2 separate regions of the Homo sapiens genome follow, and region 2 is linked to region 1. The links are contacts of gene promoters, found by promoter capture Hi-C in blood cells and fetal thymus (Javierre and others, 2016). All regions are on one chromosome and are shown on one strand. Each heading gives the region's core, a stretch centred on a gene start or on the middle of the fragment in contact. The rest is flanking DNA. Distances are from core to core; before and after follow the strand shown. Region 1 holds the start of IMPA2 (inositol monophosphatase 2). Region 2 overlaps GNAL (G protein subunit alpha L).

Evidence for each region. Contacts are between HindIII fragments. The CHiCAGO score rates a contact against its expected background, and 5 or more counts as called.
Region 2: a fragment that was not itself captured here is called in contact with the fragment with the promoter of IMPA2 in region 1 in 1 of 17 cell types (M2 macrophages); the score reaches 5.2 in M2 macrophages.

Annotation. Positions count from the first base shown.
Region 1 is chr18:11,980,248-11,983,662 of GRCh38, forward strand. It overlaps IMPA2 (inositol monophosphatase 2), which reads left to right and starts at 1,260. Exons shown (of 8, transcript NM_014214.3): 1 at 1,260-1,518. The coding sequence starts at 1,423. RefSeq lists silencers at 183-477, 318-1,797. The HindIII fragment of the contact is 12,350 bases long and covers 1-2,971 here.
Region 2 is chr18:11,719,533-11,723,384 of GRCh38, forward strand. The region is part of intron 1 of GNAL (G protein subunit alpha L); the gene reads left to right. Among named protein-coding and RNA genes, the nearest start is that of GNAL, 32 kb to the left of the region's middle. The HindIII fragment of the contact is 649 bases long and covers 1,148-1,796 here.

The DNA.
Region 1 (3,415 bases), core at 10-2,509:
CAGAATAATTTTACGTGGGTTAGCATCTTTTATAAAACGGGCAGGCAGAGCGGCTTATGAAATTAACCTTGGAAACCACGCGGCCACTCTTTCGGGAAATGCCTCCTATTTATGTTTACATGGGCCAGCAAGAGAATCCAAGGTTGGAAAGGTCATTCCTCACTACAGAGGCTCATCGCAATCACAGTTCCGTCTCCAAATTCGAGTTTTGGGTGTGAAGAGTTTATAAAGTCCAGCCGCTGTCCTCGCAGTGTTTGGGGTTAGCGGAGGGAGAGCTTGTTTGCGACCAAACTTGCCGCGCGGGGCGGCCGCTTGCAGGAACACTGCGGCCTTGTGCGCTCGGCGGTCTGAGCTCCTGCGAGGCCGAGAACGACGCCTAGCGCCCAGCGGCCTCCGCGAACAAAAAGCGACCGGTCGGAAGGTGCTGGCCCAGCCGCCCCTGGCGCTCGAGCCCGAATCCGGCCACAGACCATGAAGGGACGCCCGGCACCACGTGCGCGGGGATCCGCGGACGGGACGCTCCCCGGCACCTCCGGGGCTGGGCCGGCACCGCACGGTCCCACCCAGACAGTAGCTGCCCCGGGCCCCCAAAACAGCCGCTCCTAGCTCCTCCCTCCCAGCTCTGCGGTGGCCCAAGCCGCCCTCCGCGCGCTTGACCCAGAACAGTACGGAGTTCTGCACGAGCCGGGGGTGGGGCCTGTCTCAGCGCGCGGCGGTGGGGCGGGGCTTGGACACGGGCCCGGCTCAACTTGAGGGAGGCGGGGCTCGAGGCTCAGAGGAGTTGGAGCCCGCTCTGCGCGCTGCGGGACGGGGCACGGCGGAGCAGGGTTGGGTCCGCCTCGAGCGGGGAGGGTGATGCTGCACCACAGGGGCGGGGCTGGAGGTAAAGCGCGGAGCGGAGAGGGACCAGGCTCGGCACTGATTTGTGTTCAGGGCTAGCCCAGAGGGGCGGGGCCAGGTACGGGGCGCAGCCGGGAGCGGGAGGGGCGGTGCAGGACGGGGCCGGGCACGGCGCGGGAAGAGGCCAGGAGCAGCAACGGGTGCGGGGCGGGGCCGGGAGCGTCAAGGGGCGGGGAAGAGGGGGGAATGGGCGGGGCCGAGCTCTGCGAGGGGCGAGGTGGGGAATGCAGAGCGGGGCCGGACGCGGGAGCAGGGAGCTGGGCGGGGAGCGGGGCGGGGAGCTGGGCTGGGCTCGGCACGGGGCGGGGCGGAGGGTGGGGAGCGGAAAGCAGGACGCACGGCTCCCGCGGCCCGCTGGCTGCCCTTCCCGCCAGCGCAGGTGTGGGACGGGCGGCGGACTAGGCACAGAGCTGCGGGAGCAGGCACAGGGAGTGTGGAGCCTGGCGGCGGGACGGCGGGATCCGGTGGGAGCCGGAGTCCCGCCGAGGGGGGCTGGAGGTGGAGGGGCCCGGCGAGGCCGCGATGAAGCCGAGCGGCGAGGACCAGGCGGCGCTGGCGGCCGGCCCCTGGGAGGAGTGCTTCCAGGCGGCCGTGCAGCTGGCGCTGCGGGCAGGACAGGTGAGCGCCACGGCTGGGCTCGGAAGTCCGGGCGGAGCAGAAGCGCGTGGGCCTTGGGAGCCGCCTGGAGTGGCGGGGTCCTGGCGCGCAGCCGGCGGGCGCCCAGGGTCCGCACCCGAGGGCGCGGGGCGCGGAGCGGTGAAAGGAGCCTTTGTGCTGGTGTCCTGGACACACCTCCCGCGCCCTTCTCCAACTCCCGGAGCCCTGGCGGCGAGCCCCTCTGCTTTGGAGTTCAGCGGCTAACGTGACCTTTGCGTTTGAGTGAGTGGTCAGAATGTAGAAATCTCTCCAGGGGTAGCGTACGGGGCTGTTGATTTTTAAGGACCTATGAACGGATTCAGCTCGCGGTAGGAAGCCCGGGGCTAAGCCCCAGCCGCGTGGGGATCTGGCTGGGCTGCCGTTTGATTGTCCTGGCTGCAGCATCCTCAACCCAAACTTACTCTGACCCACACCCTGAAAGTGGCTCAGCTCCGCGACGGCCACGGACTCAGAGTTCAGGAGGAACTTGTTACACTGCCCGGAAGGATGAAAACCGAGCCGCAGAGCTACCGAAAACCAGCGAGCAGAGTTTAAAATGGAGTGCAGTTCCTCTCTTCTCTTTTTCATTTTTGTGATTGTTCCTTCCACTTTCCTCAGTACCTTTAGCAGTGCCTGACACACCGACGGTAGTGGTAGGCAAGCGAGTGTTGGTTCTCCCAGGACTGTAAGATGGCTTACTCCATGTTTGTCTCTTAGGATGTGATTGTGGGCCGGGCGCAGTGGCTCACGCCTGTAATCCCAGCACTTTGGGAGGCCGAGGCGGGTGGACCACTTGAGGTCAGGAGTTCGAGACCAGCCTGACCAACATGGTGAAACCCCGTCTCTACTGAAAATACAAAATTAGCTGGGCATGGTGGCGCGTGCCTTAGTTCCAGCTATTTGGGAGGCTGAGGCAGGAGAATCACTTGAACCTGGGAGGCGAAGGTTGCAGTGAGCTGAGATCGCGCCATTGCACACCAGCCTGGGCAACAAGAACAAAACTCCGTCTCAAAAAAAAAAAAAAAAAGTGATTGTTTTCGGGGATTTTAGAGACAGGAGGTGTGCTGAGAGCAGATTGGCCTTTTATATTCAAACATTTGTTTTCTTTTTTGAGGTCTGACAGTCCGAAAATGCTCTACCAGTTTCCCTAGATGTTGAAATCGGACTGTTATCAATCTTAAATTTGAAGTGAGTCGTCATAAAGTGGATAGTGCTTTACCTTGGTGCAAATCCTCTAATCCTGTTTAAAAATTAATCTGCAATACTAAGTAGACTCATTTTTTGTTGAAGGGCCTTCCTTCCCTTTGTAGTTTGAAGAACCCAAGCCTCAGACCGTAAAGAATGAATGAATTTAAGAGTGTTGCGAAACTCCACCCTTTGACCTTTCCCTCCTGTAGGAAAAGGAGGACCCTAAACCTTCCTGCAAGGCAGATGAAGCTTGTAGCTTCAGTGCAAGCGTTCTTCCTGGAAAGCAGAGCTGCTGTGTGCATGGAACACGGGTTCTCCTTCCATCCTTCCCTGCCTCCCAGCTTTCCTTCCAGAGCAAGCATCAGCCAGATATTTAGGAACTTTTAGGTTCTACTGTAAAACTTTTCTTCCTTGAGGCAGTGAAAAGCCAGCTTAGGATTCAGACATTGCTGTGTAAACCCTGGCGAGCTAAGTTAGGAGTTTCTGTGGTTTTCAAATTTAGATCCTTGAAGAAACAGAAGATTTTAAAATTTTATGTTATTATTTAACAAATGTGCATAAAGAGCTTGCAATAGAGCAGGAACAGTTCTAAGGCTCCTATGACTTTTAACTTAAGAGATATTTTATGTTTTTGCAACTTGCCAGCAACAAAAAAAGCTTTTTTTAAACGCTGGAGAGGGTTGCAATAAAG
Region 2 (3,852 bases), core at 222-2,721, 260 kb before region 1:
GCCTTAAATACAAGTGGAAGAAGAAATCCACGAAAATCTGGGTTCCTCTTATCTAAGTCATGCAATCTGTTGATACTAAATTGCTTGCGCCCTGGATGTGTAGTTGGGTTGTAGCTTTTGGAGACAAATCCAGCACACCTACTATTCCTTGAAGCATTTGAGTGGCTGATGCCTCACCCTGGAAGAACGGAAGCAGGCTGTCATGGACAGTGCAGAGCTGCACTCACACCATGCTGCAGCAGCCATGGACAGTGCAGAGCTGCGCTCACACCATGCTGCAGCGGCCGTGGACGGTGCAGAGCTGCGCTCGCACCATGCTGCAGTGGCAACATCAAGACATTTATAGCAGCATGTGTGTGTGCCAGCAATAGAGTGCAAGAGACAGATGTCCCTGGGAGGTTGGTGGACCACACAGCATACCTACTTGCTGTTTTGGCTTATGTTCCACAGCAGGGCTCCTCAACCTTTAATGAACATTTGAATCCCCAGGGATTTTGATAAAATGCAGATTCTGATTTAGTAGGTCTCAGGTGGGGCCCACAATTCTGTTTTCCTAGCAAGCACCACATGATGCTTATCAGGCTAGACTGTGAACTGTATTTTGAATAGCAAGGTGAGTCTAGACCAAGAGTTAGCAGACTGTTTCTGTAGGATGAATAGTTTAGGTTTTATAGACTAAATGGTAAAATCAAGGATTATTATGTAGATACTTACATAAGAGGAGAGAAAACAAATTTCCACCAAATTTTTATTAATGAAATCTAAAACATAAAACAAAAATAATTGTGTACAATTTTTTGTAAGATAGGTCTACTAATAAAAAGAATGCAACTGTTTTGGGGGAGGGATAACATTTCACTAAATTAATGTTCAAAGTAAGTGCTCCCATTATCAAAATCAATAGCAGATGTCATCTGTCAATGCTGACTTGTAGTGCGACGTTATGTGTTTCATCTTTGCAAATGTCTTTTCACTCAGACAGATACTGCCAAATATGGATGTCAGTCCACAAGCTTGTGATTTTTAATTGAGCATATTCATCATTTGGAAGACATCTATAAATTGTGTTTGATTCTTCTCTTGATATCTGCCTTCTGGCATTGCATAACATTGCAAACTAACCACTTCCAATTGAAGTTGAAGTGGAAGCTTCTCAATTGCACAGTTAAATGGATGTCGAAATTTGGAAATTTCCTTCGTACTTTTGTCAAGTTGTGAAAAGGCTCCTGGAATTGTCATTTGAGCTTGGAAAATATTTCTGCTGCAAATTTGTGTGGAAATGGAGAGCTCACTTCCTGTTTTACCTTTTGACAGCACAGGAAGTATGCAAAGCACCTTGACATTGTTTATGATTCAAGCAACATTAATGTCCCTAAATAACTTTATTGCAATATAAGATTTGCATACAGATGCAATTTTACCTTATAATTTTAGGTTGAATTACTTAAGAAACAGGTCTTCAGCAAAAGCCAATTTTCAAAGCAATTCAGTGTTCAATAATGGAGATTGTCAAAGGTTCTTCTCTTCCAGAAAAGTGTTCATCTCAGCTCTAAGTTCAAAAATTCACAATAAAACTTTACCACTGCTAAGCCACCGTACTGCTGTAAGCTAAGTCAGGATACTCAGCTTCTGTTTTTAACAAACATTAATGAAACTGACGATGTTCACAGAAGTAAATTTCACTCCTGATGCTAAGGGTTCAAAAACTCATGACAGATTCAAACATTGTCCGCAGAGCACTTGCTAGCGATTAGTAAGATAAATAACAATGGGATTTTAAAACCTTACATTTAACAAGCTTTGTAAATTTGTCCAACTAAACCTTTTTCTGCTCCACAGATATTTTTACCACCATCAGTGGTCACTCATCTTAGTGGATTCCACTTATTCAAGTTCACTGAATTAATGTTTCCTTAATGCCTTTGAAAATAGTCTCACCGGCTGGACACGGTGACTCAAACGCCTGTAATCCTAGCACTTTGGGAGGTCGAGGTGGGCAGATCACCTGAGGTCAGCAGTTCCAGACCAGACTCGCCAACATGGTGAAACCCCGTCTCTATTAAAAATACAAAAGTTAGCCAGGCATGGTGGCAGGTACTTGTAATCCCAGCTACTCTGGAGGCTGAGACAGGAGAATCTGTCTCTGGTAGCCAGCCATCATGCCTGGCTAATTAGAGTCTAACATGCCTGGCTAGTTAGAGTCAGGTTTTCACCATGTTGGCTAGGCTGGTCTCAAACTCCCGACATCAGGTGATCTGCCCACCTTGGCCTTGAACCCTGGAGGTGCAGGTTGTGGCGAGCCAAGATCATGCCATTGCACTCCAGCCTGGGAGACAAGAGTGAAACTCTGTCTCAAAAAATAAATAAATAAATAAATAAATAAATAAATAAATAAATAAATAATAAAATAGTCTCACCATAGCTGATTCACTAAGACAGTTCACAGAGGCTAAATTTTCAGTTCCTTTGAACTCAGCATTGACTCCTTGAATAAACAGTAACAACTGAGCATCATCGGTGTTAACATCACTAGCCAAGGAAAGCCACTCAGAATCATTCACCTTGGTTTTGAATTGACAAATAATGTTGTTCCCAACATTCTCAACTCTCCAAACAACTGTTCTTACCAAAAGACTAACAGTTTATTTTCTCTGGACACATTTCTTCAGCAGTTGCAATCAAACATGATTTAATTAACTTACCACCAGCAAATGATTTTTCCTGCTTGGCTAACAAATGAGCCACTCAGAAACTTAACTGGGGTAAAGAAAATTCTGCTGTGATGAGGCATTCCATTTTAAGTTTTCTGATTTTTCTGACCATTGCTTTTCTGTGAGTTGGGGATATTGTGAGTGGTAGGTCTGCTAACAGTGATATGTATTATATATTCTTCTAGCATAGATATAGCATCATTGCATAGTACAACAGTGCTTTGCCATGTAATTTGTTAGCAAATAAAGCACCCTTCACTGTACCATAAAGATGGGAGGCTCTAAGTCCACTTGTTGTTTCTTGCTTTGACAAAGTAGGCATTTACTGATAATAAATAAAATGTTGGCTGGGTGCGGTGGCTGACACCTGTAATCCCAGCAATTTGGGAGGCCAAGGTGGGCAGATCACCTGATGTCAGGAGTGAGTTCGAGACCAGCCTACCCAACATGATGAAACCCCATCTCTAACTGAAAATACAAAAATTGGGCAGGGCATGGTGGCTCAGGCCTGTAATCCCAGCACTTTGGGAGGCCGAGGCAGGTGGATCACCTGAGGTCAGGAGTTTGAGACCAGCCTGACCAACATGGAGAAACCCTGTCTCTATTAAAAATACAAAATTAGCTGGGCGTGGTGGCGCATGCCTATAATCCCAGCTACTCGAGAGGCTGAGGCAGGAGAATCACTTGAACCTGGGAGGCGGAGGTTGCAGTGAGCCAAGATCGCGCTATTGCACTCCAGCCTGGGCAACAAGAGCGAAACTTCATCTCAAAAAAAAAAAAAAAAAAAAAAATTAGCCTGGCGTGGTGGCACATGCCTGTAATCCCAGCTACTCCAGAGGCTAAGGCAGGAGAATCACTTGAACCTAGGAGGCAGAGGTTGCAGTGAGCCAAGATCGTGCCACTGCACTCCAGCCTGGGTGACAGAGTGAGACTCTGTCTTGAAAAAAATAAAAAAATAAAACGTTGTAGTCTGTACAACATGAAAACAGGCCAAGGCCACAATACATAAATGGAGGAGTGTGGCTGTGTTCCAATAAAACTTTACAAACACATTTGAATTTCGTATAGTTCTCACATGTCATGAAATCATCCTCTTTTTGTTATTTTGCAACCATTTAAAAAATGTAAAAATCATTCTTAG